Regions from separate parts of the Homo sapiens genome. Here regions 2, 3 and 4 are each linked to region 1. The links are contacts of gene promoters, found by promoter capture Hi-C in blood cells and fetal thymus (Javierre and others, 2016). All regions are on one chromosome and are shown on one strand. The core of a region is centred on a gene start or on the middle of the fragment in contact, and the rest is flanking DNA. Distances in the headings are between cores, read along the strand shown. Region 1 holds the start of SERINC1 (serine incorporator 1). Region 2 has its middle 46 kb from the start of SMPDL3A. Region 3 overlaps SMPDL3A (sphingomyelin phosphodiesterase acid like 3A). Region 4 has its middle 35 kb from the start of FABP7.

Region 1 (3,247 bases), core at 402-2,901:
ACTACGACCATCCCCTGCACTTCAGCCCGGCCAATACACTTAGACCCCCATCTCTAAAAAACTGCCTCACTGCTTCTACCTTTTTAATGTACTTCGCTATTAACACAGAAACTAAAAGGCAGGGTCAATTTTATCACGGACATTCTTCTAATCAATAAAGGTGGCGATCTATTTTGTAAAAGGGAAAACATGTATCTCATCTTTTAAATCTCTATTATATACAAAAAACTACAGCACGCCCACTTCATAACTGGACAAGATACGACATTACAAATTGAATTGCATAACATCTTCCAATAAAAAACCGATGAAAACAATCTTATATGATAATCAATTATCAGTTTTCAAAACTGTTTATCACACTAAATATGCCTCTTTTGTATAAAAGTCAATAATTAAACTCTCTAATATCTTGAGATAAAATATTCCAGGCTTCCGTGCAAGAAGAAATACCATATAATCAAAAGAACAGACTGGCTGGAGTAACAATCCCCACATTATTATTTGATTAAAATTCAACATTTTTAGTTCAAGACATATCAAAACCTTTAAGAGTATATATAACGGAATCATTTGGGAAGTCAGAAAAGCAATTGTTAGAAACAGAATTAACAAATTCCAGACTAAAGAAAAGTGATTTGAGTCCAAATACCTCGCCTAAAATTACAAATATCTTTATTAACTGCACTGCCAATGTTTTGCCTACTATTTTGGAGGGGGCAGAGATTATCTTAAATAAACTGAAATTTGTGCCACACGGACCAAAGTCTTGCCACTATACTGAAAATAGTTTTACTCTAACAACTCTTTAATGAAAATGCAATGTACAGCTAATTAAGCATGAAATTTCAGATGACACACGCATGTTTTGTGCCTAAAGACAAAATTGTCATTAGGCACAAGGCATGCGTGTGTCATCTGAAATTTCAATTTTAAGTTGAAATCTGAAATTGACACTTCAAACAGTTACGGCAGAGCTATGACTATTTGTTTCAAAAACAATATTACTACATTAGCATTACTGCCAGGCGGTTCCAAATGACGACAGGCACTTTTTAATCATAATCTGCGCCACTGAACAAAGAGGGCGACATGAATCCAGGAACGACAGTGCGGCAGTCTGAGGTCGCCAGGAAAGAGATGACAACAGAGTGGGTACCCCACCGAAGGAAAGGGGCAAAGACCTTTGTAGAGATGGCCTGCGCAGATACAAACAAAACCACGAAAAGGGACCTCAAAGAATGGGAGACAGCGTTCACGAAGCAGGGGTGGGGGAGGGGCCCTATTCTAGTTCTCTTCCTCAATTTGAGTCATCTTCCCATCGCCACTAAACCTTACGGCCAGTGATCAGTTCTTCGCAAGACCCAAAGCTCTGAAGCTGAGTCTGAGTGACGAGAGGAGACGGGAAGAAAACGGGGACAGAGAGGGCACTCCCTGTTGGGTGGGGCACCACATTCCCGCCGGGCTCACCCAGCCCCGGCTCGGATCGCCTTCTCTTTGGTCTCTCACACTAGCACCCCAGAGGCCGCAAAAAGCACCTTACCCAGCTCGCCATGGAGCACAGCCCCAGGACGCTCCCCATCTCCACAACGTCACAAGAGCAGCGGATACAGACAAGATGGAGACAGCTTCTTTCTCGCCTTTCCGAGATTATTTACTATCTGCGAGACACTTCCGGACGCACAGCGCAACCCGCCCCTCAGCCTCGCGTCACTTCCTTCCAGGCCTGGGTAGGATAAAACACGGAGCGCGCAGCGCTGAGACTGCGCATGCGCGTCACTAGACGACACGGCTGTCTTCTTTCCTGGAGAATTTCTCAAGGACTGCTGGCTGGAAACTTAACGGCTAATGTGGATCTGACCGTAGTTTGCCAAATTAAGAAAACGGTGTGAGCAAAACCCACCTTTACCTACCATGCACTTGCATTTGGGCATTAGTAGAGAACAGAGCTGAGGTGGTGGTTGACGTTTTGCCCTCCTTCATCTGAGGAACCTCTCTGCTTTTTAGGGGATTGCTTCCTCTTTCTCAGTCTTTGTCCGTCCTAACTCCACTTATTTCCCATTTTTCCCACGTTTGCATCCTGTTTTGCTCTTGCGTTTGCAACGTATTCCTGCAGCCCGCTGCCCGGAACAAGTTTTATTGGGATATTTATATTCATCTGTGTGCTTCAGTTTCTCTGTATCATTTCTGTTTGCTATTGACTTATATTTTAATTTCTTATGCTATTAAGATGTTACAAGAAATTTGCACGTTAAAATTATTTTTAATTAGTTAGATAAGACATTATCAAACTCAAACATTGATTTCGAATGTCATGAGCTGTTGAGGCATGTGGAACCCTTGCATATTAGGTGATGATGCACATCTGCAGGGAATGCATTCCTATAAAAGTTCCAGTTATTTTTTTAGAGTTATTTGTTCTTGAAAATATTCTGGGAAACAGCTCAAACTTGAAATAGTCATTCCCATAACTAATAATAAGAAAGTGTTGTAAAATCTACAAAAATTGCATGGGTCGAGGTGGGGTAAACACCTAAGAATCTGGAAGAATGTCAGAATCCCTACTCCTAGTTATTGTAACCACTAAGGGACAATCTTGCTTTATTCTTCTTTGCCTTATCTGTGGTTTTGTAGACCACTCTTAAAGCAAAGTATTATAATAGAGCATCCATAAGGTTTAAAGAATTGTGGAAATGCTTGTAATCCCAGAACTTTGGGAGGCTGAGGCAGGCGGGTCACAAGGCCAGGAGTTCAAGACCAGCCTGGCCAGCATGGTGAAACCCCATCTCTACTAAAAATACAAAAAATTAGCCGGGCATGGTGGCACGCGCATGTAATCCCAGCTACTCGGGAGGCGAGGCAGGAGAACTGCTTGAACCCGGGAGGCAGAGGTTGCAGTGAGCCGAGATTGGGCCACTGCACTCCAGCCTGGGCTGCAGAGCGAGACTCCGTCTCAAAAAAAAAGAATAGTGGAAATGGAAATTACAAACCTAACAATATTTTTAATTATGCTAAACTTAATACGTTATTTATGGGAGAAGAGAATCCTAGTATCTCAAGTCCTTAAACTTTTCAAAGTACCAGAGAAGGAGACAAAAAACACTTATATGTGAGTAACTTTAAGGTCGTAAAGAATATGTTTATTAGCCAAATGGAGAATGGGTCTCTTAAAATTTAAATTTGCACAGATTCTTGTCTCTTGCTCCATTTAAGAGGGTTTCTGAGATATTCATAAGTTCTTGCACTA
Region 2 (3,247 bases), core at 445-2,944, 360 kb after region 1:
ACTTGCCTTTCCTTGAGAATTTCTAAATGCTATTTATTATCAAATACATTTTTCTTTTAAATTGAGATTCTGTAATGGAGGAGGGGAGTAAAGAAGGATAGAATCTTGAGGAAGAAATAATTTATAGTATATTGAAACTCGGGTGCGGTATATCAGTTTTATCTGTTTTGGTACTTTATTGATTTCCCCCTGCCCCCAACTTGCTCCTAGGTTTTTGTAGTGGTTATATTAATTTTTATCTAGAAATATGTATGTACATTAACAGAGCAGTGGCAGAAAATAATACTTCTTTCAGTTGGGAGGAAGGTTAATCAACATAATTAGAATGTTTCTTCTGTTATCTTAATGTTCTGGTTATTCTCCCTCAGACTTCATTGCTTAAAAGAGACTATATGCTTTAAAACCATAGTAGGCTAGTACCCATATGTCTCATCAATATCACATATTGTTCAGGGGAGGCTTATTTGAAAGTAATGTGGCACATTGGTTTTACCAGTGTTGTTTCTGAGGACTGTACCATGGAGATTCCATATGCCTTGCGGAAGCAGTTTTAGTTGGTGTTGATAACCCATTTTCACAATAGGTTTCATGGCAATCAACAGTGTTTTGACCCTCAGTTTGAACATCTGATCAAGAAGGTTTTTAAAATAAGAGCCTCATTCTACTGAGGTCCACTAACTTCTCTGTAACATGTGAACCAAACCCTAAAAGCATTTCTTGCTGCTTATCTACAATAGAATTGCAGATTATTTGTTTGATCACATGGGGCTAACAATGGTACCCCTCCTGATACTACTTTTTTTTCACAAATTAAAGGAAAGAGGAATTTGTGTTAAAAATAAAGGAAGGAGGAATTTGTGTTAAAAATAATAAAGTATGTTTTCTTATTCTTCTGGGAAGAGAGATAACTTTCTGAGAAAATTTATTCTAGTTATGAAGCAGAGGCACCGAATCACACACTTCAAATCTTTGTCACTTTTAACAAAGCTGATTGATTATGTGAGTTTATGCCTGTCACCTTTCCTTTGGTAAAGGAAGCCTTAGCTTTGTCTTTAATGTCTGAAATGTTAACAAGAATATCTTTATGTATTATTTAATAAATTTTTTATTTGATAAGTAAAGTAGCATTGTCACTGTAAAAAAATTAGAAAATGCAGAAAACATGAAGGAGAAAAATCATTCCATTATTCTATTACATAAAGGGAACCTCTCTTATTATTAAGTGATTGATAGGCTGACAGGTTATTTGCTAAAAGGAAAGCATCCAACTATCCAAGTTAGTTCTGGCACTTTTCTTTTTTAGTACTTGTTGCAGCTGAAATGATCTAATCCAGGGGTGTTCAATCTTTTGGCTTCTCTGGGCCACCTTGGAAAAAGAAGAATTGTCTTGGGCCACACATCAAATACAGTAACACTAATGATAGCTGATAAGCTTAAAAAAATTGCAGAAGAGATCTCATAATGTTTTAACAAAGTTTATGAATTTGTGTTCAGCCACATTCAAAGCCATCCTGGGCTGCATGCAGCCCATGGGCCATGGGTTGGACAAGCTTGATCTAGTCCTTTGTGAAATTTTTATTTTTATTTTTGGCTATCTCTCCACAACAAATATATAAGCTCCATGAGGACAGGTGTTGTTTTCTATGTTGTTCACTGTCGTGTCCCCAATACTATTAAGAACAATGTCTGACACTAGAAGCCATTCAGTATTTGTTAAATATTGCATTAATGAACAAGCATGAGTTACCTTTCAAGAGTCCTTGCCCAGTTGAACCTATCCTGTCTAAGCAATTTTTTCTCTTGATACTTAAATTAGCATTACAGAAAGAATCTTTCCCTAAGCTTTACATAATGTTGCAAAATCAGAAGCTAAGACTGTTGAACACTATGGGTTTGCACGGTTAGGGCAGGTTCCTTTATGTTTGTTATTAAATGATTGTTCTATTACTGGACTTCTTGGGTTGTTCAAGCTACTTTTCTTTGGTTTTCACTGAACGGAATGGCATGGATGGATGGCCATGCCTTCCTTCAATTCCTTCTGGCCTCACTGGCCTTTTGAACCTGCCAAACTCTTGTGCAGGACCTTCGCATGAGCTGTTCCCGTGCCTAGAAATCTCTTCTATGCTCTTCAGGGGACAGTTCTTTCAACTCTGTACTTGGCTGTCAGTTTCCCAGAGCAGACCCCTGACATTGTAGAGGTGTCTGTGTACACACACTTATCACTGTCTGATATGATATCACAATTGCTTAACTATTCATACATATGACATTTGTATCTATTACCTCTGTTCCCCCATCTTGCACTAGAATGTTTTCATGAGAGCATGAAATGTTTTTTGTTTACTGCAGTATCCTATAGACAGACTAAAGTAGCCAAAGCTTTATCCAAGAAACCTTACATTTACATGATATGTGCTAAGTACTAGGAATTTTAAGATGACTATGAGACTATCCCGGAGCCTCTGCTATGAACAGGCATTGTGAGCATTGCCAAGGATACAACCTTGAAGGAAGTGAGGTGAGGCAGGGTGATGCAGATAGATAATTAGAAAAATACAAATCTATCTAGGTGGTGCAGATAGATAATTAGAAAAATACAAATCGTTAAATAATTACAGTTTTGATAAGTGCTGCAAAGGAAGTCCCAGGTACTAGAATATAGCTGGGATCTGGCTTGCATGACTTTGTTACAGTAGGTGGCTAGTCAGGCATGAATGGGGCAAGAGAGGGCTCCCCCATCACCCCATCAGAAAAGTCGGGTGACCATCAGGTGATGGTCAGACAGTTGTCACACTGCCTCTAAAATAATAATTGGTCGCAGCCAGTGCCAGGGAAAGGCAGTTTCCCTATAGACAGGAAAAAACTGAAACTGGTGATCAGCAGCTTCCTGATGAGATCTTAGGAGCTGGGCAAGTGGGCTCACACATGTGCACTAAGAGGCAAAACGGTGGAATTTAACTGGTATATGACCTTCCGCGCCCATTCCACGGCAAAAGGGAAGAATGCCTCAGGTGAGCATGCGTACAACTCCAGTAAACACACCGTGCATGCTCCCCTCCCAAGCACTAGCAGGCCACTGTGTATGTGGACAACCCACACCAAGAGAAGAATCAGGGGAGAAGGAACGCAAGACCCAGAATCACGCCAACATATAAAACCCCAAGTCGGGCCGGGTGCAGTGGCTCACGCCTGTAATCCAGGCACTTTGGCAGGCCGAGGCGGATGGATCACGAGGTTAGGAGTTCAA
Region 3 (3,247 bases), core at 280-2,779, 320 kb after region 1:
GTAGAGTTTAAAGTTTGCATCCTACCTGTTTACTCTGTGCTTCTGGTGTAGTACATGCTACTTTGTCACTTCTGATGTGTTTCTAGTCATAATCAGAGTAAACTCAAAAACCCAAAAGTGTGGAAAAAAATCTCTTTATTAAAACAATTTGAACATGGTTTATAAGGATCATTGAATATATATATATATAAATGATGTATAAACAAACTTGGAAGCCCTTCAGTATGGGAGTTCAGATTTATTAGCTGTGTATACTTTAACAAATTTTCTATTTGACCCAGCACTGGTTTTTCAATTCTAAAATGAGGACCATAATTCCCAGTTCGGAGAGCAGTTTTGAGAATCAAATGACATAGTATATTTAAATTGCTTATCACAGTGCCTGGCACATAGAAAATACTTAATAAAGAGAGATACCACTGTGATTATTTGTTCTAGTATTACCTTCAATAAAGGAAACTTTCTTGGCCGGGTGTGGTGGCTCACGCCTGTAATCCCAGCACTTTAGGAGGCTGGGGCGGGCACATCACGAGGTCAGGAAATCGAGACCATCCTGGCTAACATGGTGAAACCCCGTCTCTACTAAAAATACAAAAAATTAGCTGGGTGTGGTGGCGTGCACCTGTAATCCCAGCTACTCAGAAGGCTGAGGCAGAAGAATCGCTTGAACCCGGGAGGTGGAGGTGGCAGTGAGCCAAGATCACGCCATTGCACTCCAGCACTGGAGACAGTGTGAGACTCCATCTCAAAAAAAACACACACAAAAAAAAACTTTCTTAAGATGATTTCCAAGTAAGGGTGCTATCAAATGGGCTTGGCTGCTTCCTAAAAACCCAATGGAAGCATCCTTTTTAACAACTGCTTCCCTTAATTTTATTAACATTTTATATGAGTATATGATAGAAGATGTACCTCTATTAAATAGCTTTTAAGAAGCTTTGGGAATTCCTATTTTTGGCTTAAAGCTTGTATTAGAGATTTATGTTCTTTGAATTAATGTTGAGAGGCAAGGTTTATAAGAAAGTAAGAGTGATATATAGTTCCTGGTTCTGCAGTCTACCTACTCACTGTGTAACCCTAACAAACGACATCATATTTATACGTCAATTTTTCTACAAGAAGAATGTAAATAATTTGTAAAATCTTAAACTCTTAAAGGAGACATGCTATTAAGACACAAGATGATGTCATCATTGGCCTCTCCGAAGGGTATTTTCATACATTTTATTATGGAAACATAGCTTTGCTAAATATTCTTTGTTAGGTTATCATGCTGATACTAATACTGAGCTCATCGGTTCTTTTTTTTTGAGACGGAGTCTTGCTCTGTCGCCCAGGCTGGAGTACAGTGGCACGATCTCAGCTTACCACAACCTCCACCTCCCGGGTTTAAGTGATTCTCCTGCGTCAGCTTCCCAAATAGCTGGGATTACAGGCGTGTGCCACCACACTTGGCTAATTTTTTATATTTTTGGTAGAGATGGGGTTTCACCATGTTGGCCAGGTTGGTCTCGAACTCCTGACCTCAAGGGATCCACCTGCTTCAGCCTCCCAAATTGCTGAGATTACAGGCATGAGCCACCGCGCCCGGCCTGAGCTCATCAGTTCTGACACACTTAAGTAGTAAATTGTTCCTACAGTTCCTTGAAGCTCATCTTCTCACAGAGAAGGACTGTATTTAACTTCGAGGCTTATGAACATTTAAATTACCAAGGCTTTCCTCCATCACAGGGAGGAACAACCGTCTCTAGTCTTAATATAAATATTTTTATGAGAATTCCAAAAGAGAACAAGTAGATTTATCTGCATTTTTTGTGTAATCAACAGGACAGTTTTGGCATGTGACTGACTTACACTTAGACCCTACTTACCACATCACAGATGACCACACAAAAGTGTGTGCTTCATCTAAAGGTGCAAATGCCTCCAACCCTGGCCCTTTTGGAGATGTTCTGTGTGATTCTCCATATCAACTTATTTTGTCAGCATTTGATTTTATTAAAAATTCTGGACAAGAAGCATCTTTCATGATATGGACAGGGTAAGTGATTATACAAGTACCATTAATTACTCAATATTTATTTACAGTGTCCTAAGCTTCATAAGAGTGCTGAATTCCATAATAAGATTAGTTACATTTTAAGAGTTATTTGAGTTAAAAAAACACTAGGTCAAACTAATCAACATTATTAGAGGTAAGAACAATTTTAGAAGTGTTTTTTTTTGGAATACAGATTTCAGAAATATGTCAGTGTTAACTAAGAGATGAATCCATAAACAGCACACTTGCATCAATATCTTGAGGTGTTGATATTAGGTCTTCATGAAATTATCAAAGACAAAAGGCAATAATGGAAGTTTACCTGTCATGACAATTTTGTAAAGCATCATCTTCTGGCAGTATAACTAACTGGTTCCCTTCATCATTATAGGGTGAAGAGGCCCATATTTCTTTACCTGGAATAATGACCATGGCTAATACTTGTAGAATATTTACTTGGGGCTTGGCACTGTTTTAATTAACTTATACATTGTAACTTATTTAATTTTTACAATGGATATTATTATTCCCATTTTACAGATGAGGAAATGAAGGCACTGAACATCTAAGTAACTTACGAGTATACACAACTAGTAATTGGCAAAGCTGGGATTTGAAATAGGCATTTGGGCTCTGGTTCAATTGGCATCTGCTTTTAATTATTGCAGTTTTTAGCCTCTTATAAATCTTCAGTCAGGTAGTGAAATAGGCTGGGATTTCCAGCTTATTTTTTGTATTATATTTTGTTAATTTTCTTTTATAGGATTATCTGTAGGGTAGAGGTAAGTGAAGAGTAGTCTATCAACTCTTTAGCTGTAATCTGCTGTTTTAAAATGGAAGTCTGCAGTGATAGGTATAGCAACGCATCATGCATAAGTCTAGTAACTCTTTATGAAACTGATTTTGTTCTTTACAATCTCTCTCTTTTTTCAGGGATAGCCCACCTCATGTTCCTGTACCTGAACTCTCAACAGACACTGTTATAAATGTGATCACTAATATGACAACCACCATCCAGAGTCTCTTTCCAAATCTCCAGGTTTTCCCTGCGCTGGGTAATCATGACTATTGGCCACAGGTAAATTTGATAGACTTTCAGAAATGCTTAAAGAATTTTTCCTATTAGTAGTGTCAAAATTGTGACAATAACTAGCTAGTGATAGGGCATGGGAATGGGTCTTATAGAGGGAGAATATGGTCTTAATC
Region 4 (3,247 bases), core at 517-3,016, 270 kb after region 1:
CACACAGTCCTAATTCATGACAAATGTACTTATTTTCGGTCATATAGCCTTTTTCCTAACTAAAGAGCCACATCCCCTTCCTAACTTATTGCTATTAATGACAGTACAGGCATCAAATTTCAAGATTATGCATTTGGGAATCCCTTTTTCTTCTGTTCTGGCTAATACTTGTATCATTTATGAGTCCTCACCAGTCTTCAGTCATTAATCTTATTTCAAAAACTGTGGACATGGGAGGCTCAGAGGGGTCATAACACACATCTGGTTGGTCGTTTCCTGGCTACATACCTTGTACTGAGTGTCATTATATAAATATGTTCCTTTTAAAGTTCCTAGGCATTCATAGTAACTATAGAACAGAAAGACTGTTTTAACTTGCTGCCCTACCTCGGTAACCTGATGTATACACTGAGAGCAGTCTCCATGCAGGGAAAATCAGTGGAAGTTTTTACTATACAAGTCCAAATTATAAGGAAAATGAGTCTCATGATGATTCTCCTCATGCTTCGGCTGTGCGTGGACCAGTCAGCTTCCGGGTGTGACTGGAGCAGGGCTTGTCGTCCTCCTCAGAGTCACTTTGCAGGGGTTGTCCAGGCTCTGTTTTGCCTCCCAGGTTTCAGTGGCTGAAAGGTTTCACACGGCTGTGGTGGATCCAGGCTGGGATTCCTTCTACCTTTACAGCCGTGGGGGTGGTCAGGATGACGGTCTGAGGTCCTTTCCACCGTGGCCGCAAAGGGGCTACGTTCCAGTCCTTGATCCACACGCCATCACCTGGAGAGTAAGGGTGAACTGGGGAGAATAAGCTGATGGGACACCTCTCATTTACCCAAGTTGAGATTGTTTGTGTAATTTTTCCTAAAGCCTGTAGCTGTCGCTGTAATTCAATTTTACCTAACTCTTGGGGAGTGCCTGGAAGCTCCTGTAGTATTGGAGGAGGCCTATGATACAGCATTTCATAAGGGGAGTATTCTATTTTCTTAGAAGGAGTGCATCTAATTTTAAACAATACCATAGGAAGGGCCTGTATCCGCTTTAATCCTGTTTCATGACATACTTTCCTTAAACTATTTTTGATAGTCTGATTCATTCGCTCCACCTTTCTGGAACTCTGAGGTCGGTAGGCGGCATGTAGCTTCCAAGTGATTCCTAATGCCTTTGCTGTCTTCTGTACCAAGTCAGCCACAAATGCTGGCCTGTTATCTGAGCCGATTCATAAGGGCAGTCCAAACCTAGGAATAAGATCTCGGAGAAGCACACGGGTTACCTCGTAGGCCTTTTCAGTTCGTGTTGGATAAGCCTCTACCCACCCAGAGTAAGTACACACAAGAACCAGCAAATACTTGTTACCTCCACATTTCAGCATTTCTGTGAAATCCACCTGAAGATCCTCAAAAGGAGCCGCTCCATAAGCTTGTATGCCAGGTGGAACAGTGGGGCCTTGCCTCTTATTGTGCTGTCGGCAAGTAATGCACTGTTGTGCTACTGCTTTGGCAAGGGCTGGCAAGAGTGAGATGTAGAAGTACCGGCCTAACAATTTTTCAAGTGACTCTTGTCCTAGATGAGTGGTTTTGTGCATGGCCAATATGATTATGGCTCCTAGCAACTGCAGCACAGCTACTCTTCCACCTGGCAGTCTGATCCATCCTCCTTTTATTACTTGCCCCTCTTCTGTGTGGAAGAAGTCTTTTTCTTCCTTAGAATAGGTAGGTACCAGGTCAGGTGTTTGAGGGAGTAAGGGGGCTGCTACTGATGCCCGGTAAGAGGTAGATGCTGCTTTTCGAGCTTCTGAATCAGCTGTAGTGCGCTATGCCAATTGGGTGTCTGCACTAAGTTCAGCATCAATATGGTGACCTCCCGGAAGCGGGGGAACAGCAGGTTGCCTAAGGAGGGGTGGACCGGCCCAGGTCGGAAATTGAGCAGGTCAAAACTCCCGTGCTGATCAGTAGTGGGATCGTGCCTGTGCTGTCAGCAGATCTGAGCTTTCTTCTTGGACACCTTATACCCACAGTCCTCCAGGTGCCAAAGCAGGGCATCCGTCCCTTTAGCACACCTGACTGCTGTGGAGTGTCCCAGCAGAAGGTTGTCCACGTACAGGAGCAAGATGCAGCCTAAGTCTTTAGCAGGAAGCTTTTGCAGGTCTCGAGCCAGGGCCTCCCCAAAGATAGTAGGGGAGTTCTTGAACCTTTGGGGAAGCCGGGTCCAAGTGTACTGAGTAGTGACACGTGACTCCGGATCTTCCCACTGAAAGGCAAACAGCTTCTGGCTCTCAGGAGCTAGTCTGATGCAAAAGAAGGCATATTTTAAGTCCAGACAGGTAAACCAGCTGTCCTCAGCTAGCAGCAGCCCTAATAATGTGTAAGGGTTAGGAACTGTTGGGTGCAGAGTCACTGTAGCTTGGTTGACCAAGCATAAGTCCTGTACTGGCTGGTAGTCCTTGGTCCCTGGCTTAGGCACAGGCAGGAGGGGGGTGTGCCATGGAGACTAGCAAAGAACTATAATTCCATAGGCTTTGAAGTGCCTGAGATGAACCTGGATTCCTTTAAGAGCTTCTCTGGGAACTGGATACTGCTTTTGTCTAATTGGTTGTGCCCCAGGCTTAACTTCTATGAGTATGGGGGCTTGGTTGACCACCAGTCCTGGAGGATTATCCTCTGCCCATACTCGGGGCCATTGCTTAGCTAGAGCTGATTTTATCTCTTGGCCTGGCTTGGTTAGAAAAAGTCTCCATTCTTCTTCCCGGGGGACCGTAAGGGCCTTGATAACTCCTGTTCCCGGTAACTTTAGCTGTAAAGAGCCCTGTTTTGTAAAGCAGATGGTGGCTCTCAGCTTGCTAAGCAGGACTCTTCCCAGCAATAGCAAAGGACAGTCAGGCATGTACAAGAACTGGTGAACTATCTTATGTCCCCACACCAAGCAGGTCCGTGGTAGACAGAAAGCCTGCTTAGTGGAAACTCCTGTTGCTCTGATTATATCAATGGTTTTCTTGGATAAGGGGGCGACCAGGGTTGTCACTACTGAATGTTCAGCACCAGTATCGACCAAAAATTTAATGTCCTTGCCCCTAATTGTAATCCTGACCATGGGCTCCTTGGTGGTGCTTGAGCCCGGTCCCCTTCAGTCCAGTAGCCCTTCAGCCAGATTGAACAAAGCTCCCTCATCTTTATCTGAGGTCTTTTGTTCTGAATCACCTTGCTTTTCCTTCAGCTGGGGACACTTATCTTTCCAATGTCTTATTTCCTTATAGTAG

What was found. Contacts are between HindIII fragments. The CHiCAGO score rates a contact against its expected background, and 5 or more counts as called.
Region 2: a fragment that was not itself captured here is called in contact with the fragment with the promoter of SERINC1 in region 1 in 8 of 17 cell types (megakaryocytes, total B cells, naive B cells and 5 more); the score reaches 8.4 in megakaryocytes.
Region 3: a contact is called between a fragment that was not itself captured here and the fragment with the promoter of SERINC1 in region 1, in 1 of 17 cell types (monocytes). The highest score is 5.1, in monocytes.
Region 4: a contact is called between a fragment that was not itself captured here and the fragment with the promoter of SERINC1 in region 1, in 1 of 17 cell types (monocytes). The highest score is 5.2, in monocytes.

The regions. Positions count from the first base shown.
Region 1 is chr6:122,470,156-122,473,402 of GRCh38, forward strand. It overlaps SERINC1 (serine incorporator 1), which reads right to left and starts at 1,652. Exons shown (of 10, transcript NM_020755.4): 1 at 1,544-1,652. The coding sequence starts at 1,582. It also overlaps a transcript of PKIB not described here. RefSeq lists enhancers at 1,302-1,701, 1,752-1,811. The HindIII fragment of the contact is 8,379 bases long and covers 1-3,247 here.
Region 2 is chr6:122,833,581-122,836,827 of GRCh38, forward strand. No RefSeq gene overlaps it. Among named protein-coding and RNA genes, the nearest start is that of SMPDL3A, 46 kb to the left of the region's middle. The HindIII fragment of the contact is 292 bases long and covers 1,549-1,840 here.
Region 3 is chr6:122,793,850-122,797,096 of GRCh38, forward strand. SMPDL3A (sphingomyelin phosphodiesterase acid like 3A) reads left to right here. Exons shown (of 8, transcript NM_006714.5): 2 at 1,828-2,041; 3 at 2,975-3,119. Among named protein-coding and RNA genes, the nearest start is that of SMPDL3A, 6.2 kb to the left of the region's middle. The HindIII fragment of the contact is 1,132 bases long and covers 964-2,095 here.
Region 4 is chr6:122,743,547-122,746,793 of GRCh38, forward strand. It overlaps the pseudogene RN7SL564P. Among named protein-coding and RNA genes, the nearest start is that of FABP7, 35 kb to the right of the region's middle. The HindIII fragment of the contact is 717 bases long and covers 1,409-2,125 here.